Linked DNA regions of Homo sapiens: regions 1 and 2 are each linked to region 3. Evidence: promoter capture Hi-C in 16 types of primary human blood cells and fetal thymus (Javierre and others, 2016). All regions are on one chromosome and are shown on one strand. Each heading gives the region's core, a stretch centred on a gene start or on the middle of the fragment in contact. The rest is flanking DNA. Distances are from core to core; before and after follow the strand shown. Region 1 has its middle 2.4 kb from the start of DRG1. Region 2 overlaps PIK3IP1 (phosphoinositide-3-kinase interacting protein 1). Region 3 holds the start of PRR14L (proline rich 14 like).

The links. The method cuts DNA at HindIII sites, captures the fragments that hold promoters and counts their contacts. A CHiCAGO score of 5 or more calls a contact.
Region 1: a fragment that was not itself captured here is called in contact with the fragment with the promoter of PRR14L in region 3 in 2 of 17 cell types (monocytes and non-activated CD4 T cells); the score reaches 5.3 in monocytes.
Region 2: a contact is called between a fragment that was not itself captured here and the fragment with the promoter of PRR14L in region 3, in 2 of 17 cell types (fetal thymus and naive CD4 T cells). The highest score is 5.2, in fetal thymus.

What each region holds. Positions count from the first base shown.
Region 1 is chr22:31,395,351-31,399,014 of GRCh38, forward strand. No RefSeq gene overlaps it. Among named protein-coding and RNA genes, the nearest start is that of DRG1, 2.4 kb to the right of the region's middle. The HindIII fragment of the contact is 1,856 bases long and covers 1,094-2,949 here.
Region 2 is chr22:31,286,455-31,290,754 of GRCh38, forward strand. PIK3IP1 (phosphoinositide-3-kinase interacting protein 1) reads right to left here. Exons shown (of 6, transcript NM_052880.5): 4 at 3,045-3,245; 5 at 2,861-2,939. Among named protein-coding and RNA genes, the nearest start is that of PIK3IP1, 3.9 kb to the right of the region's middle. RefSeq lists enhancers at 2,830-2,879, 4,027-4,226 and a silencer at 4,277-4,300. The HindIII fragment of the contact is 5,705 bases long and covers 1-4,300 here.
Region 3 is chr22:31,748,163-31,752,231 of GRCh38, forward strand. PRR14L (proline rich 14 like) reads right to left here and starts at 1,970. Exons shown (of 9, transcript NM_173566.3): 1 at 1,831-1,970. RefSeq lists enhancers at 980-1,612, 1,852-2,411, 1,901-2,195. The HindIII fragment of the contact is 5,796 bases long and covers 930-4,069 here.

The DNA of each region.
Region 1 (3,664 bases), core at 772-3,271, 350 kb before region 3:
AAGACCAGCCTAGGTAACATGGTGAGACCCTGTCTCTACTAAAAATACAAAAAAAAAAAAAAAAGTTGGGCATGGCAGTGCAAGCCTGTGGTTCCAGCTACTTGGGAGGCTGAGGTGGGAGGATGGCCTGAGCCCTGGAGGCGGAGGTTGCAGTGAGCCTAGATTGCACCACTGCACTCCAGTCTGGGTGACACAGTAAGACCCTGTCTCATAATAAATAAATAAATAAATAACATGGATTTTTCTTGTATCATTATCCTGTTACTTCTTCCATCAACCTGACTCAATTATTAAGGTGTCTATAATAACATATACAGACTACTTAGAAAAAAAATTAAATACTTTTTCTTTCTCTTTATGTTATTTTATTCTAAAATTTTTGTTGATATTTAATAGTTGTACATATTTGGGGGCTACATGTGGTATTTTGATACATGTATACAATGTGTCATAAAATCAGAGTAACTGGGATATACATCACTTCAAACATCTTTTCTGCTTCTTGAAAAAAAACAATTTCTCTCTTAAAATTTCCATTTTTAAAATATCTTTCAAGAGGTTGTTGTAGCTGCACATCTGCTGGTGCTGGAGATAGATATAGTATCACTCCTTCCTCATGGGATCATGTCTTTTTTGTTTTGTTTTTTTCTTCTTTGTCTGTTTTGTTTTTTTGAGACAGGGTCCCACTCTGTCACCCAGGCTGAAGTGCAGTGGCATGATCACAGCTTACTGCAGCCTCGTCTTCTTGGGCCCACCTCAGCCTCCCGAGTAGCTGAGATTATACCACCACACTGATTTTTTGTAGAGACGGGGTTTCGTCATGTTGCCCCCTGTACCCAGCTAATTTTTTTTATTTTCGTAGAGATGAGGTATTGCTGTGTTACCCAGGCTGGTCCCAAACTCCTGGGCTTAAGCGATCCTTCTGCCTTGGCCTCCCAAAGTGCTGGGAGTGAGCCAGGCGTGAGCCACCAAACCTGGCCAGGGATCATGGTTTAATGGGAGTCAAGAGAAGTAAAACAGTGCCCGAGAAAGCCTATGTATTTGACCACATATAATTGTTCTGGAATGGTGGGAGTGTCTCATCAAGAGATGAAGCTTTTCTGTCAATCTTTGTTTTACTTATTTATTATTTATTTTAGAGGTAGTTTCTCGCTCTTTCACCCAGGCTGGAGTGCAGTGGTGGGATCATAGCCCAGTGTAACGTCAAAGTCCTGGGCTCCAGTGAACCTCCTGCCTGAGCCTTCCCAGTAGCTAGGACTACAGGTGCGGGCCAACAAGCCTGAATAATTTTTTTTTTTTTTTTTGAGACAGGGTCTTGCTGTTACCCAAGCTGGAGTGCAGTGATCTGATCATGGCTTACTGTGGCCTTGACCTCCTGGGCTCAAGTGATCCTCCTGCCTCAGCCTCACACATAGCTCAGACTACAGGTATGTGCTACCACGTCTGGCTAATTTTTAAATTTTTTGCAGACCGGCTAATTTTTTTTTTTTTGTAGAGATGGGGCGTCTCCCTATGTTGCCCAGGCAGGTCTTGAACTCCTGGCTTCAATGCCCAGGCTGGTCTTGAACTCCTGGCCTCAAGCGATCCTCCCACCTCAACCTCTGAAAGCACTGGGATTAAACTGTGAGCCACTGTCCCCGGCCTATTTATTTTTTACACATTTAATACCAAGGTGCTAGTGCTTTATTCATATGACCAAATGGGCTCTCCTTGCTGCAGTTGGTACTTAACAGACATGGGGTAGCTATGGCTCTTAGGAGCTGAACCTAAGGTCCTGGCCTTGGCCTCCCAGCCTGGATACTTCTTTTTTTTTCTTCCTTGAGATAGAGTCTCGCTCTTGTCGTCCTGGCTCCAGGCTGTAGTGCAATGGCATGATCTCGGCTCACTACAACCTCTGCCTCCCGGGTTCAAGCGATTCTCCTGCTCAGCCTCCTGAGTAGCTGGGATTACAGGCGCCCGCCACCACGCCCGGCTAATTTTAGTATTTTTAATAGAGACGGGGTTTCACCATGCTGGCCAGGCTGGTCTCGAACTCCTGACCTCAGGTGATCCACCTGCCTCGGCCTCCCAAAGTGCTGGGATTACAGGGGTGAGCCACTGTGCCCAGCCCCAGCCTGGATACTTTTTTTTTTTGAGACTGAGTCTCCCTCTGTCGCCAGGCTGGAGTGCAGTGGCACATTCTTGGTTCACTGCAACCTCCGCCTCCCGGGTTCAAGGGATTTTCCTGCCTCAGCTTCCTGAGTAGCTGGGACTACAGGTGCATGCCATCATGCCTGGCTAATTTTTTGTATTTTTAGTAGACACCGGGTTTCACCGTATTAGCCAGGATGGTCTCGATCTCCTGACCTCGTGATCTGCCACCCACCTCGGCCTCCCAAAGTGCTGGGATTACAGGCATGAGCCACCGCGCCCGGCCTAAATACTTGTTATGTGCAGGAACATATCTGATTCACTCTCTACTCTGTCCCCAGTGTTGTCACAGTGCCAGGCAGCAGTTGGAGCTCTGTAAATAACGATTGCATGAACAGGATGGCCACCCAGGACTCGGGAAAATGAGTATTACTCTTTGGTGCCTATTGACAGTTCAGGGCCCCAAGGTGGGTCCCAGGGTGTCTTTGAGCAGTAAGTGTTAACTTATCTGCAGGCCTCATATAATAGATTTGCTAAGGAGCACCTACTCACAGAGCAGTGATGCCCTTGATATTGTCAGCCAATTAATTCCTTAAGTACTTCAAGTTAGGATAGGCCTGCTGATTTGATTTTATCTGTCTTTTAAGATTGATCTTTGATCATGTCCCATTCCAGCTGGACCTCCTCATCTTCCCTCCTCCATTGCTAATAGTGTGGGATCTAATTACCTCATCATCCCTTAATTTATTTATGAAAAAGGCTGAGGTTAAAGAAAAGAAAGAAGAAACTCTCTTTGGCCCTTTGGGGACCTTCTGTAAAAGCTTTCCCTTCTGTTTCTCCCTCTTTATGCACAAGAAAACCTCCCTTTTTTGTCTCTGGGAAGTTAGAATAGTTCTTGTTTACAAATTTAACTAAATTAAACTTCCCTCCCAGGGCTGGGTGGAGGCCAGCCCTGTGGGTTAAGCCTGGCCTGTCGACTGTGGGTTAAGCCTGGCCTGTCGACTCCCGCTGGAATAATCAATCTATCAAAACAACCCATTGATCCTGAGGCAAACCGCTTTCAAAACCACCACATAGTTCCTGGACGTCCTGGCTTCCTCATGACACTTGGGGAAGAGGAGTCTTTTGAAATTTTAAATTTTATTATTACACAAGTAATACATGGATACATTCGTCTTGTAAAAATTTAACTTCAAAATTCTGTGGAATAAAATGTGAAAGGCCTTTTCTTTGCATCCCATCCCACAGTTAAGAGCTTCTGATGTATTTTTCTGTTTAGGCCTTTAAACTGCACGTTCATACACGTACACCTATATAAATGTACATTTAATTTTAAAAATAACATAAATGGTATCACTACGTAGGTGCCCTTCTGCTAGTTGTTTTCCCATTTAACATGTCCTGGGTAGCCAGTCAGACCACAGATCTACGTTTTAACGGCTGTAATCATATTTCAAAAACAGGATAGAGGCATTATTCATTTATCCATTTTCCTACTGATGGGTGTTAATATAGATTTCAATTTTTTGGTATT
Region 2 (4,300 bases), core at 1,588-4,087, 460 kb before region 3:
CCACATGCGGTTTCCTGTTGTACAGTCTGTTCTCAGAGCAGTTCTGCTGAAGAAAGGGGTGATCTGGTCGTTAGTGACGGGGAGTCTGATGACTGGGTGCCTTGCCCTGAGTTTACAGGAAAATAAATTTTAGGCCTCAGGGCAGTCTCGTGACAGCCTAGAGGAACAAATCTAGAAGAAAAAAGACTTCCACTGGACACCAGAACTGAGCTCAGAATTAAGAATGTTTAGTCAGTTCAAGCACCTGGAAGGCCTGGAAACTGTCACAGGATTGCAGGACAGCCAAATGCTGTTGGGTGGCTGAGGAAAAAGGAGATAGTTCAAGGACTAAACTCAGCCAATGTGGCTTAGGTCTGCTTATGAATTGTAAGGCCAGGGCCACTATGTCATTAACTCTGAAATGAACAAGCAGGTGTCCCTGGACCTGCATGTCAAGCATCCCATTGTGGGAAACAACCTCAGACTGGGCGTCAGGATGTCCTCTCAAGTCAATACTTTCCCTCTCTGGACCTCTGCTTCCTGCATCATAAGAAATCAGAGAGTACTAGTCCATTACCCACTTTTTTTTTTTTTTTTTTTTTTTTGAGACAGCATCTCACTCTGTCACCCAGGCTGGAGTGCAGTGGCACAATCATGGCTCACCATAGCGACTTCCCAGGCTCAGGTGATCCTCCCATCTCAGCCTCCTTAGTAACTAGGACTACAGGCGCCCACCACCATGCCTGGCTAATTTTTGTATTTTTTTGTAGAGACAGGGTTTTGCCATGTTGCCCATGCTGGTCTCGAACTCTTGGGCTCAAGCGATCCACCCACCTCTGCCTCCCAAAGTGCTAGGATTACAGGTGTGAGCCACTACGCCTGGTCCATTACCTACATTTTTTTTTTTTTTTTTTTGAGACGGAGTATGGCTCTGTCGCCCAGGCTGGAGTGCAGTGGCACAATCTCGGCTCACTGCAACCTCAGCCTCCCAGGTTCAAGCGATTCTCCTGCCTCAGCCTCCCAAGTAGCCGGGATTACAAGTGCCCGCCACCACGCCTGGCTAATTTTTTGTATTTTTAGTAGAGACAGGATTTCACTATGTTGGCCAGGCTGGTCTCGAACTCCTGACCTCATGATCTGCCCGCCTCGGCCTCCCAAAGTGCTAGGATTACAGGTGTGAGCCACCACGCCCAGCCACACATTTTATAGAAAAGAAAAACAGCCATCATTTACTGACCACCTACTATGTGCCACACCCTGAGCTAAGTAGTCAAAAGCCATAGCTCCACACCATGATGTGGAGTAGGAAATTGAAGCAATTTGCCCAGGGTCACAGAGATAGCTAGTTAAAGGACTTCTCTCCACCAAATGCTAGGTGTGTAACCTCAGGTAACGTATATAATCCCCTCTTGCCTCAGTTTCCTCATCTGTAAATTGGAGATGACAGCATTTACCTCATAAGGGTGATTATGAGTTAAAGCATGTGCTTCAAGCAGTGTCTGGCATACGGTACATGTTTGCTACTGCTGTTATTATTATACCCAAACTTCCCCTTTTTCATCTGTAATGAGGAGGTTGACTACAAGGCCTTTAAAGATGCCCTGCTGGGTGATCCACTGAGGCTGTGGGCTCAGACATGGCCCTCATCACTGGAAAATGCAGGCTGCATGCCAGGCATGGTGGTTCATGCCTATACACTTTGGGAGGCTGAGGTAGGAGGACTGCTTGAGCCCAGGAGTTTGAGACTAGCCTGGGCAACACAGTGAGACCCTGTCTCTATAAAAAAATTAAAAATCAGCCAGGCATGGTGGGACATGCCTGTAGTCCCAGCTACTCAGTGGGGGTGGGTGGGGGTAATTACTTGCGCCCTGGGAGGTTGAGGCTGCAGTGAGCCGTGATCGCACCACTGCACTCAAGCCTAGGCAATAGAGCGAGACCCTGAAAAAAAAAAATCAAAGAAAGGAAGGAAAGAAAGGGGAAGGAAGGAAGGGAGGGAGGGAGGGAGGAAAGGAAGGAAAAATGCAGGCTACTGTGTCACTTTCCTCACAGGAAGTTTTCTCAGACCACAGAGGAGAATATTACAGACACCCAGGGCTAGAAGTCAAATCCCCCGATTTTGCCCAAGAATGGCAAATAATTTTCCACAATCAGCCAGTGCTGTAAAGATGAATGCCAGTCTGGCTTACCATCATGCACCAGTCACTGACGGACATCTCGTGGGACCTTTCAAAATAAGCATTCTTCTCCTGCTGTCCCAGCCACAGGTCATGTCCTTGAGTTTCACAAGTAGCCTCTTTGGCTTTCTCACACGTGGTGAAGAGTGGCAAACAGACTTTCTGTTCTCCAACTCACTTTTTTCTTCCCTAGCAGAGGAGATCCCACTGCTTATAGCTCAGGAAATTTAAGCCTCAACTGCAACAGTGGCTGGAAACCTTTTCTAGTAGCAGAATTTTATAACTCACAGAAAGAATTTGGTCTTAAGGTCCCTGCAATCAGTGTCAAGCCTGATTTCTGCAGTGCCACTCACTTCAATGCCAGGCATGTGGGATCAGACAGCAGGGAATTTGCTATCAAAAGAGCTGGGTCTGAATCCAGGTTCTGCCACTCCTAGGCTATGTGACTTTGAGCAAGTCTCTGACAGAGGCTTCTTCATTTGTAAAATGCGGAACAAGAACATCCCTCACAAGGCTTTTAAGTGAGGTGTAAAGGCACCAAAGGAAAGGGTTTGTCCAAGGTCAGCAGATAAAGACTAGGACCAAGTCTCTACATCTTGAGCTGATTTTCAACATCTTGCTTCCTTTTGGGTAAGAAAGCCACAAAGTTTGACTTTGTGTACCTTCCTCCCCTCCTCCTAAGAGGGCCCAGAAGAGAAGCTACTGACCTCTTGTAGGAGTAGCCCAAGATGATGCCAGCTCCGATGGCAATGATGATCACCATCATGGTAATGCCCAGCACGTAGCCTGCCAAGGATAGGACACAAGGTCCCATTAGCCACACCCTAGACAATCAGCAAATGACATCTCTTGATGAATCCCAACGAGGGCAGGGGTGGGGGACCGTCATACCCAGAGTTCCCAGGTCCTTTTTCTCCTTGGAGTTCATCCGCACCCGCTGGCTGATCCCAATCACTGGCTGCACAGCTGCCGCCTCACTCCGAGCGGGCAGGGCGTTGGCAGGAGCGAACACCTGCACCTCATCTGCACCTGGCCCTTCAGACGCTTCCTGGATTTCTGTCGTGAAGGCTGGCAGGGCCTGGGAGGTGGTCTCTGGAGATGAGGTGGGAAACAGCTCTCATCAGGGACTGCCCTGAGTGAATTCCACAGCTGAACCTGGCCTGAGTGTTAGGGTAGATGAAGGTGGGTCACCTAAGAATTTCCCCCCACACACAACCCAAAGTCAAATTCTGCCCCAGAGGTAAGATCAGGCCTGAGAGGGCTGAACCATCTCAGGGACAAGGCAAATGAGAGAGGAAGGCCGTAGGGAAGGGCTTCTCTCCTACCTCCCACGTCTTTATCTGTCCAAATCCTTGCTATTTCCCAAGGCCCCTCTCGGTTGCGTTCTTCTGCAGGGGATTCCCCCCACTTCTACTTCAGGAAACAACCCATGCTTCCTTTGAGCAGCTCACATCTAAGCGTACGCTCTGTGCCAGTCCTTAGGTAAAATGTTTTACTTTGTGCCGGGAGCGGTGGCTCACGCCTGTAATCCCAGCACTTTGGGAGGCCAGACGGTCGGATCACCTGAGGTCAGGAGTTAGAGAGCAGCCCGGCCAACATGGTGAAACCCCGTCTCTACTAAAAATACAAAAATTAGCTGGGCGTGGTGGTGCACGCCTGTTATCCCAGCTACTCAAGCGGCTGAGGCAGGAGAATCACTGTAACGCGGAAGGCGGAAGTTGCAGTGAGCCGAAATTGCGCCACTGCACTCCAGCCTGGGTGACAGAACGAGACTCCGTCTCAAAAAATAAAAAATAAAAAATAAATGCTTTATTTTGATTATCCCATTTAAACCTAGAAAACTCTCTTGCTGCTTTGGGAGCAAAAAGCCTGCGCTCTGGAATCTAAGAAACGTGAATTCAAATCTGTCCCCTGCCATTGCCTTTGGTAAATCGCTTAACTTCTCTGAAGCTCAGATGCCTCAAACGACTTCTTCCCGCGGTGTGTGTCAGGGGAGGTTGGGGAGCTGGGGTTGTGAGCAGTGTGGGTCTAGCACACTGCAGACGCTCCGCAAACGGTCAATAAACGCTGAGGGGCCAAAAGCCACTCCTCAGGACGCGCGGCGGAGAGACCTAGCCTCACCCCAGCCTCGCCCCGCGCAGTTGTTT
Region 3 (4,069 bases), core at 720-3,219:
CACCTTGAGAAAGGGGCTTTCTTTTCCAAAGATTCAGACATTGTAGCCATTCCCTCCAAGAGGGAATTTGGAGAATGGGCCTCTTCTTGAGAAACAAAGAAAGAAGAGTTTTTTAATAAAATCCCAAGACAAACCAAAAGTGAGGCAGGGAAGTTCATACACTAAACAGGGCAAGCGCTTCAACATGGAGCGTGCAGAAAATCTCTAAAGCATCAAGGACTATTTCCCATTTCCTCCCTTTAATAACATCCAGAAAAAGGATCCCTGTCTCCACGTAAGGAGTGAAACTGGAAAATGCTCCTGATTTCTACTGACAGAGGCTTCCTGTATAAAAGATTTTCCTCTGTTTTATAAAGGAAAAGGAGAAAAGAAACAATCTGTGTCATTTTCCATATACAAGAGGGAAGAGATCTCTCCTCAAAGGTATAGAGTCTTCATTTTCTTGGGAGAGCAAAAGACAGGAAGAATATGGAATCGCCCACTTGGGGGGGTGGGAAGGATGTGCAGATGGAAGATTTTTTGTCACTACAGTAAGTCAGGGAAGTGGGAGAGGGCATCTCTAACCAGTCAGGAAGAAGTGATACCTTCTGTGGACAAAGGAAGTGCTGGCGTCTGGCATCAGGTCTCACTTTCTCTTAAGAGCACAGACCTGTTTCCAAAAGCTAAGTCTTTTTTTTACTGATTATTTTCAGTGAGGCCCTCTTTGTTAATTTGGGAAAGTATTGAACAGCAGGATCTAAGGGGACTGGAAGTGTCTCTTTCTCTAACCCCTAAGTGGGAGGGAGTCTTCCACTCCAGTGAGAAAGGATGGTTGAACACTTGTGATGGAGGCTGCGAGGGGCATGCATGGAAAAATATGCTTCTCTGTGCAAGATATTAGTTTTCTTTTTTAACAGATTAAGTAATAGTAATAGCAACAGCTTACCAAAAGCTTACTATATAACTAGTATTTACACAAATGCTCCCTTAGCCCGCATGACAATTCTAAGAAAACAGAACCCAAATTGGAGATGGACTGAGATTCAGACAAGTTAAACAAATAGTCAAGGTCACAAAGACGTTAAGTGAGAGACCCAGGTTTGCAACGATTACACTCCAAAAGCCATGCTCTTAATAATGCAAGGGAAAGGAGCTCACTGCACACCAAGAGGCTTAAAGGGAAGAAGAGAAGCGAGGGTCTCTCTGTGGACATCACGAGGGGAGAGGGAGAAAGGTTGATTTCTGATACCATAAAGTAAAATTTCAAGGTCTTCCTCTCCGTATCTTGGGGTACAGGCGAAAAATAAAGGAGGAAGGTAAGTCTCTTTCTTACTGGGAAGAAAGATCCCCTCTGTCACTTTCAGGCAAGTTGGGTCTCACTCTTCACCTGGGTGACGCTGACCAAAGTTGGGGGAAAGGTCTCATTTAGGGGTTATCTTTTACTCCTCCTCAGGATAAGTTCAGAATCCCCCTCGAACCCTGGGAGTGGGTCTCCCTCTGCTGACCAACGGATGAGCGCTAAGAAAGAGCGTACGCCTCCGATAAGGGGCGTCGTCCTCTCCGAGGAGATAAGTTGGGGGATCCCTGTTGTATCGAGGTTGAAGAGGAGTCTCTCTCCCGCGTCGGAGCCATGACTCGGAGAAGCCGCTTTTCTCTAGCGACGCGGGGCCTGGTCTCCTCCCTCTCCCTGGGTCGTTCCGCCGCCCACAGGGCAGCCTTGGTTCCTTTCCGCGCCCCGAGAGGGCGGGGGGCCTGGACTCCCCTTTAGCAGCACCACCCGGCGGAGGGTCCCTTTAGGGCGGAGTGGGGCGGGGCGGCTACGCCCGAAGCCTTCCAGTCCCGGCCTCTTACCCTGAGACCTCCTCCGCGGCCCGCGCTTGCCCAGCCAGCTCAGCCCCTGCAGCTGCAGCCCCGTCGTCGCCAGGTCTACCTGAGCCTACGGAGCCGACAGAGGCCGGGGGCGCTCCGGCCGCCGCCACCTCTTCGTCTCTATGGTCCCCCTGCACTTCCTCATCCGGGGCCCGAGCCAGCCATGCGGACTCGCCCAAATCCCGCCCCCGCACCGCGCGCGCGCACTCCAAGGGAAGGCTCTTCCTGATTCTGACCTCCCGCCCTCTGCTAGCCCCAGCCTCCCTCAACCCCGCCCCTGCGGCTCAAACTCTTAAAGGGAAACACAACTTTTGGTTCTGCTCCTGCTGAGCCACAGGACCCAGTGCCGGCCTTCGCTGCTGTCACCCTGTTCCAGTCCACCGTTTTTCTAGTCTGGACGGCTACAATTCTAAGGGCCTGCCTGCTTCCACTCTGGCAGCCCGAGAGATCTTATTCTACTGGAAAGAGTGTTTTGGGTCATGACACTCCTCTGCTTCTTCTAATCACACTGACCACTAAATAAATGGCACCTCTGCCTCCAGTTGGTTACAGAACCTTGTTTTATTTTCTTCATAGCTTTAACACTAGCTGAAATTTCTATGTCTCATCTCTTTATTGACTTGTTTATCATTTATCTTCCTCCACCTTGTCTGTTTTGTTCATCACTTAATGCTCAGCACCAAGAGCAGTGTCCGGCACAAAACTAGACGCTCAATGGACATTTGAAGGAAGGAAGAAATGTTTATCCAGTGGAAGAATTGAGGTCCAGATAATGAAATCGACTTGCCCCAAATAATACGGCTTTGTGTTAAAAAATAGAAATCGACCAGGCGCGGTGTCTCACGCCTGTAATCCAGCACTTTGGGAGGCGAAAGCGGGAGAAGCACTTCAGCCCAGAAGTTTGAGACCAGCCTGGGCAACATAGTGAGACATCGTTTCTGCCAAAAAACAAACAGCTGGGTCTGGTGATGTGTGCCTGTAATCCCAGCTACTCTGGAGGCTGAGGCAGGAAGATCACTTGAGGCTGGAAGGTTGAGGCTGCAGTGAGCAGTGATAGTGCCACTGCACTCCAGCCTGGATGACACAGCAAGACTCTTTCTCAAAACAAAACAAAAATTGCTCAGGTGTTGATGCACCTGTGCTCCTAGCTACTGGGGAGCCTGAAGCAGGAGGATCGTTTGAGCCCAGGAGTTTGAAGCTGCATTGAGCTATGATGGTGCCCCCACTGCACTCCAGCCTGGGCAACAAAACAAGACACTGTCTCAAAAAAAAAAAAAAAAAAAAAAATTGAATGCTTCAAAGTTTCGTTTCTTTCTTTCTTTTTTTTTTTTTTGAGACGGGGCCACGTTCTGACACCAGGCTGGAGTGCAGTGGTAGGATCTCGGCTCACTGCAACCTCTGCCTCCCAGGTTCAAGAGATTCTCCAGCCTCAGCCTCCTGAGTAGCTGGGATTACAGGCGCATGCTACCATGCCCAGCTAATTTTTGTATTTTTAGTAGAGACAGGGTTTCACCATGTTGGCCAGGCTGGTCTTGAACTCCTGACCTCGAGTGATCCGCCTGCCTCGGCCTCCCAAAGTGCTGGGATTACAGGCGTGAGCCACCACTCCTGGCCTTCAGAGTTTCTTTATGAGAGTTGCCAAATTAAAAAGTTAAAATATTTGCCTTTTGGCCGGGCGTGGTGGCTGAAGCCTATAATCCCAGCACTTTGGGAGGCCAAGGCGGGCGGATCACGAGGTCAGGAGATCAAGACCATCCTGGCTAATACGGTGAAACCCCCTCTCTACTAAAAATTATAAACAATTAGCCAGGCGTGGTGGCGGGCACCTGTAGTCCCAGCTACTCGGGAGGCTGAGGCGGGAGAATGGCATGAACCCGGGAGGCAGAGGTTGCAGTGAGCCGAGATCGGGCCACTGCACTCCAGCCTGGGCGACAGAGGGAGACTCCGTCTCAAAAAAAAAAAAAAATTTGCCTTTTTAAGATGTCCCATTATGGACATCTCTCAGGAGAAGGAATCAAATTCCCTTGAGGGCTAAGAAGAGAGAATCCTATTAGCTTCCCCAGGGATGGAAGAATGTCCCATCAACCACCATTGCTAAAGACAAAAACTATCTTGGGGGATCTAGGTGTATCTCCTGAAGTGGCAACATAGAAACATTTTTTAACATAACATTGTTATTCTTAAAAAATTTTGTAACTGTTGCAATCCACTGTATCACATA